5 separate regions of the Homo sapiens genome follow, and all the other regions are linked to region 4. Evidence: promoter capture Hi-C in human tissues and cell types (Jung and others, 2019). All regions are on one chromosome and are shown on one strand. Each heading gives the region's core, a stretch centred on a gene start or on the middle of the fragment in contact. The rest is flanking DNA. Distances are from core to core; before and after follow the strand shown.

What was found. Contacts are between HindIII fragments. The study calls those that stand out against the background at their distance.
Region 1: a fragment that was not itself captured here is called in contact with the fragment with the promoter of NPAP1 in region 4 in 6 of the 25 tissues and cell types used here (H1 embryonic stem cells, aorta, hippocampus and 3 more).
Region 2: a contact is called between a fragment that was not itself captured here and the fragment with the promoter of NPAP1 in region 4, in 2 of the 25 tissues and cell types used here (H1 embryonic stem cells and liver).
Region 3: a fragment that was not itself captured here is called in contact with the fragment with the promoter of NPAP1 in region 4 in 4 of the 25 tissues and cell types used here (heart left ventricle, lymphoblastoid cells, mesendoderm cells and 1 more).
Region 5: a contact is called between a fragment that was not itself captured here and the fragment with the promoter of NPAP1 in region 4, in 6 of the 25 tissues and cell types used here (dorsolateral prefrontal cortex, heart left ventricle, liver and 3 more).

What each region holds. Positions count from the first base shown.
Region 1 is chr15:24,805,496-24,808,195 of GRCh38, forward strand. No RefSeq gene overlaps it. Among named protein-coding and RNA genes, the nearest start is that of SNHG14, 17 kb to the right of the region's middle. The HindIII fragment of the contact is 8,494 bases long and covers 1-2,700 here.
Region 2 is chr15:24,850,685-24,853,384 of GRCh38, forward strand. All of the region lies in intron 2 of SNHG14 (small nucleolar RNA host gene 14), which reads left to right. It also overlaps a transcript of SNRPN not described here. Among named protein-coding and RNA genes, the nearest start is that of SNHG14, 28 kb to the left of the region's middle. The HindIII fragment of the contact is 8,543 bases long and covers 1-2,700 here.
Region 3 is chr15:24,518,436-24,521,135 of GRCh38, forward strand. It overlaps a transcript of LOC105370733 not described here. Among named protein-coding and RNA genes, the nearest start is that of PWRN1, 38 kb to the right of the region's middle. The HindIII fragment of the contact is 3,349 bases long and covers 1-2,700 here.
Region 4 is chr15:24,674,405-24,677,104 of GRCh38, forward strand. It overlaps NPAP1 (nuclear pore associated protein 1), which reads left to right and starts at 1,371. Exons shown (of 1, transcript NM_018958.3): 1 at 1,371-2,700. The coding sequence starts at 1,464. The HindIII fragment of the contact is 8,790 bases long and covers 1-2,700 here.
Region 5 is chr15:24,490,325-24,493,024 of GRCh38, forward strand. All of the region lies in intron 2 of LOC105370733 (a long non-coding RNA gene), which reads left to right. Among named protein-coding and RNA genes, the nearest start is that of PWRN3, 51 kb to the left of the region's middle. The HindIII fragment of the contact is 7,283 bases long and covers 1-2,700 here.

The DNA.
Region 1 (2,700 bases), core at 107-2,606, 130 kb after region 4:
TACAAATATAATCTCACAGAGGATAATACAGAACTCTCTAAAGATATGAGGCAAAGCCAAAGCTTATGATAAGCACAGGTGATGATAATTTGAGGAAAGTCATGAAAACGGTGAGTTGAGAAGTGATTCAGAAGAGTTTGATCTCATGAGAGCTATTTTAGGATTATCTCTGTTAATGTATCCTGTTTTAATTTTTCATCTCATGTACTCATAGGAGTGATATAAGATAAATAACATGTTGAATTCACTTCCTGTGTATATATTCCCAGAAGTGGAATAGCTGGATAATATGGTAGTTCTATTTTTAGTTTTTTGAAACCTTCATTTTTTTTTCCACAATGGCTGTACTAATTTGCATTCCCACCCACAGGGATTCCCTTTTCCACATTTATTTAAGTTCAATAAAATTGTAATCAATAATAATATAAAAATTCTAAGTGATAATAAATATTTGTGTCACAGTTTTTCAGTGGTTTTATTTTTTGTGGCAAAAAAATAATGGTGCATTTTACCAATGATGCATCTTGTAATTACTTAGGAAAAGCTGTCAGTATTAGCAAATTCTAATTTAGTTGTTAGTATAGACCTGCATTAGTCTATGTGCTCTATGTATTACTAGTTCCTTTAAACCTCACAACATCCCAAGAGGTAGGCAATATTATCACTTCCATGCTCCAGTTCTGAATCTTAGCTAAAGCACTTCAGTAAAAAATAGGAGATGCTGGAGCTTGACTGGGTCTGTCTCCAGAGTCCTTGCTCACATTAGCTATGTTACGATATATTTTGTGATAAGAACCTTCTAGATCTAGTTTCAGAAATCTTATATACCCCATGGTCATGAAGCTATTCTCCTAAATTAGGTCCTAAATACCGTACTAATTTTTTTTAAAAAAATATCTAGGTCCGGCCAGGCACGTTGGCTCACGCCTATAATCCCAGCACTTTGGGAGGCCAAGGTAGGCAGATCATAAGGTCAGGAGTTCGAGACCAGCCTGACCAACATGGTGAAACCCATCTCTACTAAAAATAAAAAAATTAGGCATGGTGGCGTGCACCTGTAATTCCAGATACTCAGGAGGCTGAGGCAGGAGAATCATTTGATCCTGGGAGGCAGAGGTTGCAGTGAGCTGAGATTGTACCACTGCATGCCAGCTTGGGTGACAGAGCGAGGCTCTGTCACAAAATATATATATATCTAGGTCAGTGATCCATCTGGAATTGATTAATTTTGAAATGTGAGATCAAATGTCTATTTTATTTTCTCCTACGGATATTTAATTTTTTGGAACATATATTGAAAAATCAATATTCCCTATTTATCTTTCTTTACACTATTTTTCTTACATATTCTTTTGTCCTTTTTTGAGCTTTCTTTTTTCATTTGTTTATTTCTGTATTTTTCTGCGAATACTAAAGTAACTCAGTTACTGAGAGACTTCATTTTACACAAGAATTTTCCCTCCAGAGTCCATTCTCTTCATCACTGTGCTGTTCTAGAATGAAGAAATGAAAGAGTAGGATCCTGCATTCCTTGCACCCCAACCAAAAATACCAGGTGTACTTTGTTTTGTTTTGTTTTGTTTCAATAGAGTTTAAGACTTCAGAACATGACTGTTGACACTAATGTCTCTAACGTCTTTGTGACTCTCAGACAACCCCAACCAACTTCACTACCACTTTATTTTTCAGTAACAAATCAGTGAATTTTATGTGATTTTGTGCCTTCTCTTCCACCACTCTGGGCTTTCTCTATCCTTAGAAACATTGGCAGGAGCTTGGAGAGTCATCCCTGGGTGCATCCCGCTCATGTGGATGAGCCTCAGTGGACTTGGTCTTACTCCTCTGGACCATGACCCATCAAAGTCCTGGCTGTGGCAGGCAAAGCTGAGCTGAGGGCTCTCTGTGAGGCCTGCATGGGCAAAACCAGCTGCTCCCAACACTCCCTAAGTGATCTGTTTGGGTATTCATTCTGTTTTTAATAAAGAATGAGTTTGTTCAACAATGACTGAGCTTGCTGACCAAGGATAATTACCCTTCAGACCTTGTCTGATAATGTTTGTTCTTGCTTTTGCTTTGGCACACAGTTTTCAACACTTTGTATTAATTTTTATTTGTTTTGGTCACATAACAATTTCTGCAACCAAATTCATATTTTTGTCTTGTGTATTAATTTCATTATTGTATTTAATAATGCACTTATACCCATTTTTCATAAAACCTTTTCAATTATTTTCATCTTTTCAGTCATAAAATTTTCCTAAATAGAATAGGAATATGACTTTTATTGGGAAAAGCAGATGCTACACACCCTTTTTCCGTGTTTTCCAGGAATTTCCACTGAAGTACCTCTGGTTGAAAAGGAGAACAGAGACTTTTTTCACAGCCACAGGACAAAATTTGTTCAGAATTAAATGCTGAAAAAGGAGGTATGATTGTTTTCATTATATGGCTTAGTTTGTTATAATTGTGGAAGATGCACAAGGCATTAGTTTATACAGGCAGAATACTGAATCTTCAATTCTGAATGCAAAGAATAGCCATTTTGTCACTGAGCAAGCATAAATATCATACTGTTACTCTTTATCCAAAAGCTATAGACATGGCTGAAGTCTTTGATTCCTTCTAACTTGTTGTAAATGTATGCATGTAATTTCCTTGTACACATGGACCATAATATAAATATCTATAGTTTTCTTGCAA
Region 2 (2,700 bases), core at 152-2,651, 180 kb after region 4:
GTCCAGAAAAAAAGTACAGATGAGGTAGAAGGAGCCTGGTCTATGTGTTCATCTTTGTGGTGGATTGAGAATAGGGAGGCTGGAGAAGAGGCTGAGGGGGAAGTCAGGGCTCACTCCTGTCCTAAAAGCAAAAGGGAGCAAAAGAACCATGTTCATCTTCAGATTCACACATTCTTCACTTTGAAAGAAAATTTAAGTTTATTAGGAAACCATATCTGTGAGGAGTTTTTATTTTTTTTTTGTTTTCTTTTTTTGAAACAGGGTCTTATTTTGTTGCCCAGGCTGGAGTGCAGTGGCATATACACTGTTCACTGCAGCCTCTACCTCCTGGGCCCTAGCAGTTATCCTACCTCAGCCTCCCATGTAGCTGGGACCACAGGCATATGCCACCAAGCCCTGCCTATTTTATTTTTTTGTAAAGACGTGTCTCACTTTGTTGCCCAGGCTGGTGGGGGGAAGTTTTAGAGATTCATTAAATAATTTGTGAAATTTAAAATAAAGGAAAATATTCTGTTTTGGGTTTTGCCCAGTGCATGTTTGGGGCTCATAGGTGAACAACATGGACAAAATAACCTCTGATATTTCAGTCCAGTAGTGATTCAAGGACTGTAACCCAAATCTCAAATGTAGGAGTTTTGGGTTACAAAACTTTTGGGAGCTGAGAGCACAGGCATCAGACCTGAAATGGAATGGACAAGGAAGGCCTCTAGGAGGAGGAACATTGGAGGAGGTTCTGGAGAGCGTGGAGCAGTGAATCTGGCAAACAGGAGAAAGAGAAGAGGAAAAAATGTGTCTGTGGCACAGGCCAGGGCATGAGAAGGGGACAGTGGATTAGAAGGACTGCTGGGATTAGCAACATGTAAGGAGGGCAGGAGCGGGAAGGGCAGACCATGGAGAGGCTGTGAAGGGGAGAGTGGGCAGGTCAGGAAGTGACACAGGGCCGGCCAGCCCACTAAGGAATGCATTTGTTGTGCTGGTAGTTCAAATATCAGTCTCGTTCCTTGCAACAGTACCTCCAGGTCAAGAAGAGTGAGGATAGCCTCTGTGTCTGAGGAGGTCCCTGTGCATTATGAGGAATTGGTTCTAGGAAGAAGGGAGAGTGAAGAGGAACAGAGAGGACCCTCCAGATCCAGTACGGGCCAACTAAGGGAACTTGGATGCTCCTGTTCATGTCCCTTTCTCCATCACTGAGACTCGCCCCATCCCACCCTGAATGCAGGTTCCTTTCCCCTCGGTTATTTTGTGCGTCTCAGATGATGACATGTATTGTAACTTTATTCTATCACATATGACTTTTACATTATATCATAGAAAAAGTTACTTACATAAATTACTTAATGGTGGATTAGTCATAGTTAAAATGTTGTCAGCTTGGTAAACAAATGAAATTATCACACTTTAGTTTTTCTTCGTTGATCATTTATGAAGATTAGTGTCTCCTCATTTCATGGATGTCACAACTACATGTTCTTAAGTAAGGTGTATGCTTGGGGTGTTGTGTTTTCCCTGTTAATGTTGGATACTCCAGTGTTCAGCAAACTATAAACCTATCAACACACATTTGAAAAATCCAGTTGTTTTGTGTTTTATTTCGTGTATCCTGTCTTTACAATATTATATCTTTTCTTCTGCTTACTTGAAATTTAATTTGCTCTTCTTTTTCTAGGTTCCTAAGATGGAAACTTAGGCGATCATTGGGCATCATCATAGGGTCTACCTGCCAAATCAGGTCTTCTTCATTCTGCAAAAGTTTCTCAGTCACCACTTATATTTCATGACTTTGACCCTTGTGAAAATACCAGTCAGATATCTTGTGGAATGTCCCACAATGTGTATTTGTCTGATGGTTTCTCATAATTAGACTAGAAACAATGTGTAAATTAAACATATTTTTCCAAATTAGAAAACAAGAAAAACAGAATAACATATTAGTTAGAAGTATTAACATAGGGCTGGACGCAGTGGCTTATGCCTATAATCCCAACACTTTGGGAGGTGAAGGTGGGCAGATTAATTGAATCCAGCAATTCAGCAATTCAAGACCAATCTGGGCAACATGGCAGAACGCTGTTTCTAAAAAAAATGCAAAAAATTAGCTAGGTGTTGCAGCATATGTCTGCAGTCTCAGCTACTCGGGAGGCTGAGGTGGGAGGATTGGGAGGGTGGCCTGAGCTTGGGAGGTCAAGGTTCACTGAGCTGTGATTGTGCCATAGCGCTCCAACCTGGGCAAGAGAGTGAGACCATATCTCAACAAAAAAGAGAGAAAAGAAAAAATAACAGAGAAAAATAATTTTTAAAAATCAGGTAATGACAAATAGGGAATTCCAAATATATTGCTAATGGTCTGTTAAGCTTGACAGTGCTTTTAGAAAACTTGTTCTGTTTAGAATAGTGTTAGACTCACAGAACAAATTGGTAATATAAAGAGTTTACATATACCACACACAGTTTTCCTTATTATAAATCTTAACATTAGTGTGTTACGCTTGTTACAATTAAGAACCAATGTTAAACATTATCATTCACTGCTATCCATGCTTTATTCACATGTCCTTAATTTCACTTAATGTCCATTTTTTGATTCTGGAATCCCATCCAGGATGACACATCATATTTAGATGTCATTCCTCTTTATGCTTCATAAGCTGTTGACACTTCCTTCAACTTTCCTGGTCTTTCATGACATTGACATACTTCATT
Region 3 (2,700 bases), core at 10-2,509, 160 kb before region 4:
GTTACACAATATTGTCATCTAGCAGGTGCTGGAACTGTAACTCCCAAAGGTCATTCCACCATTGTTTCAAGTGAGTTGCTTCAGGATTATAGGGAACATGGTGAATTCACTGAAGTTTCTGAGCATGAGCTCATTTCTACCCTTCTTTGTCTGTGACGTGAGTTCCTTGTTCAGAAGCAATGCTGTGTGGAATACCATGATGGTAGATAGGCATTAAGTCCATGGATGGTAGTTTCCACAGAATACTTGCATGCAAGGAAGTAAAATTTATAGATGGAGTAACTGTCTTACTATTCCAGGAAGAACAAAATGCTGCCCCTTCCCTGATGAAAGCTGCCCAATGTAATCAACCTACCACAAGGAAATTGGCAGATCTTCCTGGGGAATGGTGCCATATAGAGACTTGGTGTTAGTTTCTGCTGCTGACAGTTGGAACACTCAGAGGGGTCTGTAACCTGGTTGGCCATGGTGAAAGGAATTCCAGATTGCTGTGTGTATGCAAAACCTCAGTCCCTACCACAGTGGCCACTTTATTCATAAGCCCGGTGACTGATGACATAGGTGCCTGGGAAAAGAGGCTGACTACTGTCAGAGAATGCATGATCACATCCACCGGATGATTAGAGTCCAGAAGAGCTATGGTAAGAGAGTGAGTCAGTTTTCCTCTGTTTCCCAGCACAGTTTAGCCAACGTTCTCGTTAAGCTTTAAGTGGCTTTTTCTGCTTCTCCTGAGGCCTGGGGTCTCCTTGCTGTGTGGAGTTTTCAGGGGATTTCTAGGTCTTGGGCTACCTTTTGAGTGATTTAAGATATAAAAGCTTTCCCACTGGCCGGGCATGGTGGCTCATGTCTGTACTTTGGGAGGCCAAAGCTGGCTCATGCCAGCACTTTGGGAGGCCAAGGCAGGCGGATCATAAGGTCAGGGGTTTGAGACCAGCCTGGCCAACATGGTGAAACTCCGTCTCTACTAAAAAATACAAAAAAACAGCCAGGCGTGGTGGTGGGCACCTGTAATCCCAGCTACTCTGGAGGCTGAGGCAGGAGAATTTGTTGAACCCGCTAGGCAGAGGCTGCAGTGAGCTGAGATCACGCCATTGCACTCCAGCCTGGGCAACAGGGTGAGACTCCATCTCAAAAAAAAAAAAAAGAAAAAAAAAAAACTTGTCCACTACATGGTTTTAGGCAGCCCAAACCCAGGAAAAATATCCTTTAAGAGATGGCATGATACCTCCGAGGTGGTATCAGAGCGAGTTGATCACCTTTATCCATCGTGGGAAGATAACAACCACACCTAGAAGGTATCTAAAGTTCCCGGGGGTCTGGAGCATGACCGTAAAGTGTGTTTGCCAGTCCTTGCCAGGGTAAATTCCCCTAAATTGTACTCCTTAACATGAGGCCTTGAGGGTGATCTGTTATGGGGACTGTTAGTGTGGCAGAGAGAGCAACTGTGGGTCACTTGCTGCACTGTCTCCAAGGTTGGGAGTGGTCATCGTTTGAAGGAGCCAATTGTACAGGGTTATCTACCATAATGTGAGCTCTCATGGGCCTCCTTAACTACCTGGATAGCTATGGATTTTTGAAAAAATAATTGTGAGAAATTTCAAACCATCCTGGATATCCTCTGCTTTTTAAGAAGACTTCCCAGGGGGATTACTGCTAGGGAGCCAGTGTGCCAATTACAGAGACTGCTGGTGTCAAAGAGGCTTTGGGTCTCAGGGGAGACCAGGTGTCACAGTGCTCTTCATGGCTTCATGGGGAGAGTCTAACTCAGGAAATATTTGCTTGCCTTCTCTGGCTTTTATCCTCGTGGAAGTCAATTTACATGTTTTCTTGTAGTCCCTTATTCTGGCATAGGGCCATTAATACCTTTTTTTTGTTTGTTTGTTTGCTTTTTGCTTTTGGTAAAAGAGATCTAGTTAGAGAATTTCCCACTATCTGAAATGAAAATACCTTATAAGTGTTCAGAGTACTTGTTACTGCACATCCACTAGTTTAAATCTGCATAATGTTATCAATGCCTTGGACCAGTGTAGTATCCTGTGGAAGGAGAAGGTGATCAACTTCCTGCAAACTGTGACTTTGTTATGGAGAGTTGATATTATGTTGAGGTAGGACAGAGAAGTTATTGACACTGAAATTAAACGACTTCTGGTGGGCCTTATGAAGAGAAATAGAGAAAAAGCTTCATTAGATCAATAGGTGCATACCAGGTATCAGGGAATGTGTTAATTTGCTCAAGCAATAAAACTACATCTGATATAGCAGTTGCAATTACAAGGAACACTTGGTTTAGCTTGTGGGAATCCACTGTCACTCTCCAGGATCCATCTGTCTTTTGCACAGGCCAAGTTAGACAGGGATGTGTTAGAATCTCTACCCCTGCATCCTTCCAGTCCTTGATGGTGGTGGTAATCTCTACAGTCACTCCAGAGGTGTGGTTATGAATTTGATTTTCTATTTTCCTAGGTAGAGGCAGCTCTAGTGCCTTCCATTTAGATATTCCCACCATACTAGCGCCCACTCCACAGGTCAGGGAACCAATGTGGGAAATGTGCCAGGTGCTAACTATGTCTATTAAAGCTTTGCATCTACAACTAGAGAAATGACCAGAGTATGTGTTTGGGGCCACTGGACCCATGGTGATTTCATGTGACTAAAATTTAATCACCTGACCTCCATAAATCCCCACTCTGACTGGCATTC
Region 4 (2,700 bases), core at 121-2,620:
CAGAGAACTGGCTTATCCATTTGGATTAATCCACTGGTGAATTTCTTTCGGGATAGGCCAAAATGGATCTGGACTATAATCTTTACATATTTAGATCCTTCAAACTAGACCAAAAAGGAAATCTGGGCTGCAAGGCTCAATTAGAAGAACAGTGTGGGATGCTGCTTTGCTGACTATTGGGGGTCGCTGCCCCATGTCTTCAGAGGAGACTGGAGCCCAGTGCCTGCCATGACCAACTTATGAGGTGAAGTAAGGGCTTCCCCCTAGGAACGCATGTGCTTAATACAGATGTGCTGTGTGCTAGGTACCCTAAGGACTACAGGAAATAATGAGAATACATGATGTGTCCATAACAAGGAGGCACACAGGCCACGGCACCAGCTCTGGAATCACACAGCCCAGGTTCGAAGCCTGGCTAGGCCACTGTCATATCAATGACCCAAGGAGCAAGCAGCCTAAGGCTTAAATGTTGTTGCTGTTGTTTGTTGTGGTTTTTTGTTTTTGTTTTTGTTTGAGACAAGAGTTTTGCTCTGTTCCCCCAGGCTGGAGTGCAGTGAGGTGATCTCAGCTCACTGCAACCTCCACCTCCCGCTTTCAAGCGATTCTCCTGCCTCAGCCTCCCTAGTAGCTGGGATTACAAGTGCGTGCCACCACGCTCAGTTAATTTTTGTATTTTTAGTAGAGATGGGGTTTCACCATGGTGGTCAGGCTGGTCTCGAACTCCTGACCTCAGGTGATCCACCCGCCTTGGCCTCCCAAAGTGCTGGGATTAAAGGCGTGAGCCACCGCGCCCAGCCTTAAATGTTGTTTAAAACAAATTTGTGAAAAGAAGTGAAGAGGCCCTGCCTGCCAGGAAGAGATGTGGTAGGGCGTAGCATCTAGTCAGGACAAGGCACCACGTCCCCTCCTCGGAAACCCTCACGGCCTGGCTGGTGACCCTGGCGCCACAGAGACGGCACACCTGGCTCCAGGCAGCACAGAGCACTGCCAAGGTCCTAGAGGAGGCTGGCAGGATATAGGTTGTCCTGTGCTTAACTTGAAGCAGATGTGCCCTCTGTGAACCGGGGAATGGGGACGGCCGACACAGGGCCACTGCGTGCAACAGCGCCGGGCCAGGGCTAAGGAACAGGCAGAGCCGGCGCCCAGGTGACAAGAGCTCTGGCGATGGGCCCGCAGGCCCCAGCAGTTCCCTCATAGAGGCCACGCGGTGCAACACCTGCCACCGGCAGCGGGGCTTCCGGGGGTCCTGGGGCAGCTGGGGCCGACGGGGCGTCGCCCTTTGCCCTCTGACCCCTGCCTTTTGCGCCCCCGCTGGCGCTCCCTGGTTCTGTGAGGAACCTCGCGGCGGCGTCGCAGGCGTAGAGCCAGTCAGTTTGTGCTTGGTCGCCAGAGGAGGCGGTGGCTGAGGAGAGTTGAGTCCACTGCTGACCCTGTTTTACGGTAGGAGGCACGGCTAGCTCTAAATGGGCAATTTACTTAGTAAATTTAGACCCGGGTGCCGCCGCCGGCCCCTGCCAGGGCCAGGGCGTGGCGCCCCCGCTCCCCTGTCCCGGGACGCCTCCCCGCCCGGTCGGGCTCACTCTGTACCCACCCCGCGCCCTTTCCGCGGCCTGTTCCGCCGGAACGCCCGTCGCAGGCCTTCAGCAGCCAGCATCTTCGTCGCCCCTAAGAGGCCGTGTCCTCTCCCTCGGGCTGCGGCCGCCCCTCTGGGGGTCCTGCCGGCTGTGGGTTGGGGGCTGGCCATCAGGAAGACACCCATGCTGCCTGCTCGGAACCCCCCGAGGTTTGGACACCCCAGTTCCGTAAGGATCCCTCCTCCCAGCCGCATGTTCACTCTCCTGCTGCCTTCACCACGTGAGCCGGCGGTCAAGGCCAGGAAGCCCATCCCAGCCACTCTCCTGGAGGAGACCGAGGTGTGGGCCCAAGAAGGGCCCAGAAGAGTGAAGAAGGATGAGGATCCGGTGCAGATCGAAGGGGAGGATGACGAGAAAAGGACCCCCCTTAGCAGCGGAGAAGCATCGTCCACATCCAGGTCCCAGGGCACCCAGGGAGACGTGGCCTCCTTCAGATGCAGCCCTGGGCCTCTGGAGGGAAATGTCTACCACAAGTTCTCAGAAAACAGCATGAGTGAGAAGGCCCAGGCGTCTCCAGCGAGCTCCTGCTTGGAAGGCCCTGCCATGCCCAGCACACACAGCCAGGCCGGATGTGCCCGGCATCTTGGAAAGCCTGATCCGGATGCAACAGCGCCCCCTGAGCCAGCCGTTGGCTGCTCCCTGCTGCAGCAGAAGTTGGCTGCGGAAGTGCTGAATGAAGAGCCACCGCCCAGCTCCCTAGGCTTGCCGATTCCGCTGATGTCCGGAAAGAGGATGCCTGATGAGAAGCCTTTCTGTATTCCTCCAAGGAGCGCTGCTCCTCCCAGAGCTGCCCGCAACAGGCCCTGCAAAAGGAAAATGTCGATTCCATTGCTGCTGCCGCTGCCCCCTTCACTGCCATTGCTGTGGGATCGAGGTGAGCTTCCCCCACCTGCTAAGCTCCCCTGCCTGTCTGTTGAGGGAGACCTACACACCTTGGAGAAGAGCCCTGAGTATAAAAGGAATAGCAGAATCTTGGAGGATAAAACAGAGACCATGACAAACAGCAGCATCACCCAGCCTGCCCCTTCTTTCTCCCAACCTGTGCAGACCACAGACTCCCTGCCCC
Region 5 (2,700 bases), core at 40-2,539, 180 kb before region 4:
TGTTTAGAGTTGCATTTTCCTAATGACAAAAGACTTAGGCCTCATATCATGTGCTTACTAGATGTGACTATAGTATCTTTGGATACATGTCTATTCAGATAGTTCACCAATTTGATTGTGATATTTGCCTTTTTATTTTGAGTTGTAAAATATTTTATATATTGTGGCTAATATATTCTTTTCTGCTATGTGATTGTGAAGATTTTCTTCTATTCTTTGTGTTATCTTTTCACTTTTAATTATGTACTTTGAATCTCAGAAATTTTTAATTCTTACAAAGTTAAATATATTCATTTTTTAATTTCCTTTTCTTGGGCTTTAAGTATCATATCTTAGAAATTATAGGAGTTATTGTTTAAGCTAAGACCCAAATTATGTATTTCTATATTATCTTCTAAGGGTTTGGTCTATTTAGCTCTTACATTTGGATATATGATTACTTTGAGCCAATTATGTATATGGTGTGAGTGAGAAGTTCAACTTCCTTGTGGATATTCAATTGTCCTAGCAACATTTGTTAAAATATATTTTTCCATATTGAATTGGCTTGGCAGACTTATAAAATCATTTGACTATAAAGGTAAAGATTAATTTTTGGACATTCAATTCTACCATATTCCTTTGATCTGTATGTCCAAGTTTATGCTATTATTGAGCCTTTAAATTAAATTATGATGATACTGAGTTTTTCATGGATGCCCTTTAAAATAAAGAAACTTTCCTTATAGGCTTAATTTGTTGTATACTGTTATCAAAAATGGATTTTAGATTTGTCAGGTGCCTTTCCTGCATCTTTTGAGATGATCATATGGCTTTTGTTTTTTATTTTATTCTTATAGGTCATGACACTAATTATTTTGTATGTTGAACCAAATTTGCATTCCTGGGACAAATACCATTGGTGATGGTGTATAATTCTTTTTACATTTGCTGATTTGTATTGCTAGCATTTTATTGAAGACATTTACCCTCTATTTATAAAAGATATTGGTCTTAATTTTTCTTTCTTGAGATGTCTTGCTTTAGTTTTAATATCAGTGTAAACTAATAGTATACATCAGGAAGTGATCTCTTCTCCACTTTTACTGTTGTTTAAGTTTTTATGAAGAGTTTGTGATAGATTGTTATTAATTATTTTCAGGTTTAGAATAGTTCACCAGTGAAGTCATCTCAACCAGCACAGGGCCTTGACTCCTAACAACAATCACACGAACTTGGAAGAGGAGCCTTCCCCAACTGAACCTTCGCTTGAGACCTCGTCCTTGGCCATCCTCTACATCTGGATTCATGATACAGAGAAACTGTGAGTAAGAGCCACTCAGTGTGTGAGAATTTATTATTCAGCAGTAAATAATACACCTGACAGTCAATGCAATGTGGTATCCTGGACAGAAAAATGACATTACTTAAAAGCCTAGTAAAATATGGAAAAAGCCTATACTTCAATAAATAGTTTTGTGCCAACTGTTTTTTAGGGCTCATGGTTACATAATCTATTACATTGCATGTAATTCAAAGATATCTAAAGCTTTCTGTAGTATCTTTGCATATTTCTGTGTATTTAAAATTATTTCAAAGAAAAAATGTTTTTGAAAAAAGCATTAAATGTGATATGAAAATAATCTCAAAGCACAAACAGAATACCTTCAGCTCAGGAGATGAAAGGGCACGTAGAGAGAGAATAGCAAAGCATCTTTCCATATTGATTTACCAACTCGAACACAGGTACACTTGCTTCAGGAAGATCCCCCCAAGTTCCAGAGACTCATCCTCTTTCATCTTCTTCATCATATTCCGCATTTTTCACTCACCAGTTTTAGCATCTGGTGCTAACTACGTAACCAGTTTTTGAAAGACAGATGCCTATTACTCGCATGTCTCAAAAAGCCCCATTTTCAGATATAATTTAGCAGGACTCCAACAAACAGACCAGAATTTATTGAGAGCTTGCAGTGAGGAGTGCCTTAATTCCAACACGACTATGTTGACAACACATCCTCTTGTGAGTGAAGCATTCATACAGAATGAGTCGTTGAAACTCAATAACATATGCCTACTGTACAAGAAAGGTAATAATCAATATAATGCTCTAAAATTATTCTGGGGACATAGGGGACATTTGTCCAAGATTTATGAGATGTGAGCAACCAAGAGAGCGTGAACACTGATATTTAACAAGTGCTCCAAATCAGTAGATGGGCATTTGATTTTCCAGTTAGGGCTGCAGTCAGGGTCTCTTAGCTTCAATACTATACACAGAGAATTTCAATGACAGATCTTGATTAAAATAACAATAATAACAACCCCTCATTTTTATATTGCAGCCTGGCACCATTTAACTTAATTTTACTGCATAAAAATAGCAATCCTATACTCCATGCAAACTAGAATGGCAGTGGAATTTATGTAGTGAAGAAAGTGACAAATTATTTTCCAAATATAAAGCAAACTTAAGGTTTTATAGGGAAATAAATGGGGGTAAAAATATTTTAATCCTTATTTTTCTGATAATTGTGTTCTGCTCTTATAAATAGAAAGCTGCACTTTCATTATTTTATAATATAGTGAGTTTATCAGCCACCTGTATGAAAATTGTATAGTAAGAGTAGGTATGTGTCCACTTGGTTGGTTCATTCGACTTATACACATCATTTACTTTATCTCGAATGGTTATTTTTTAAGCCTTGGTTTTGCTACAAC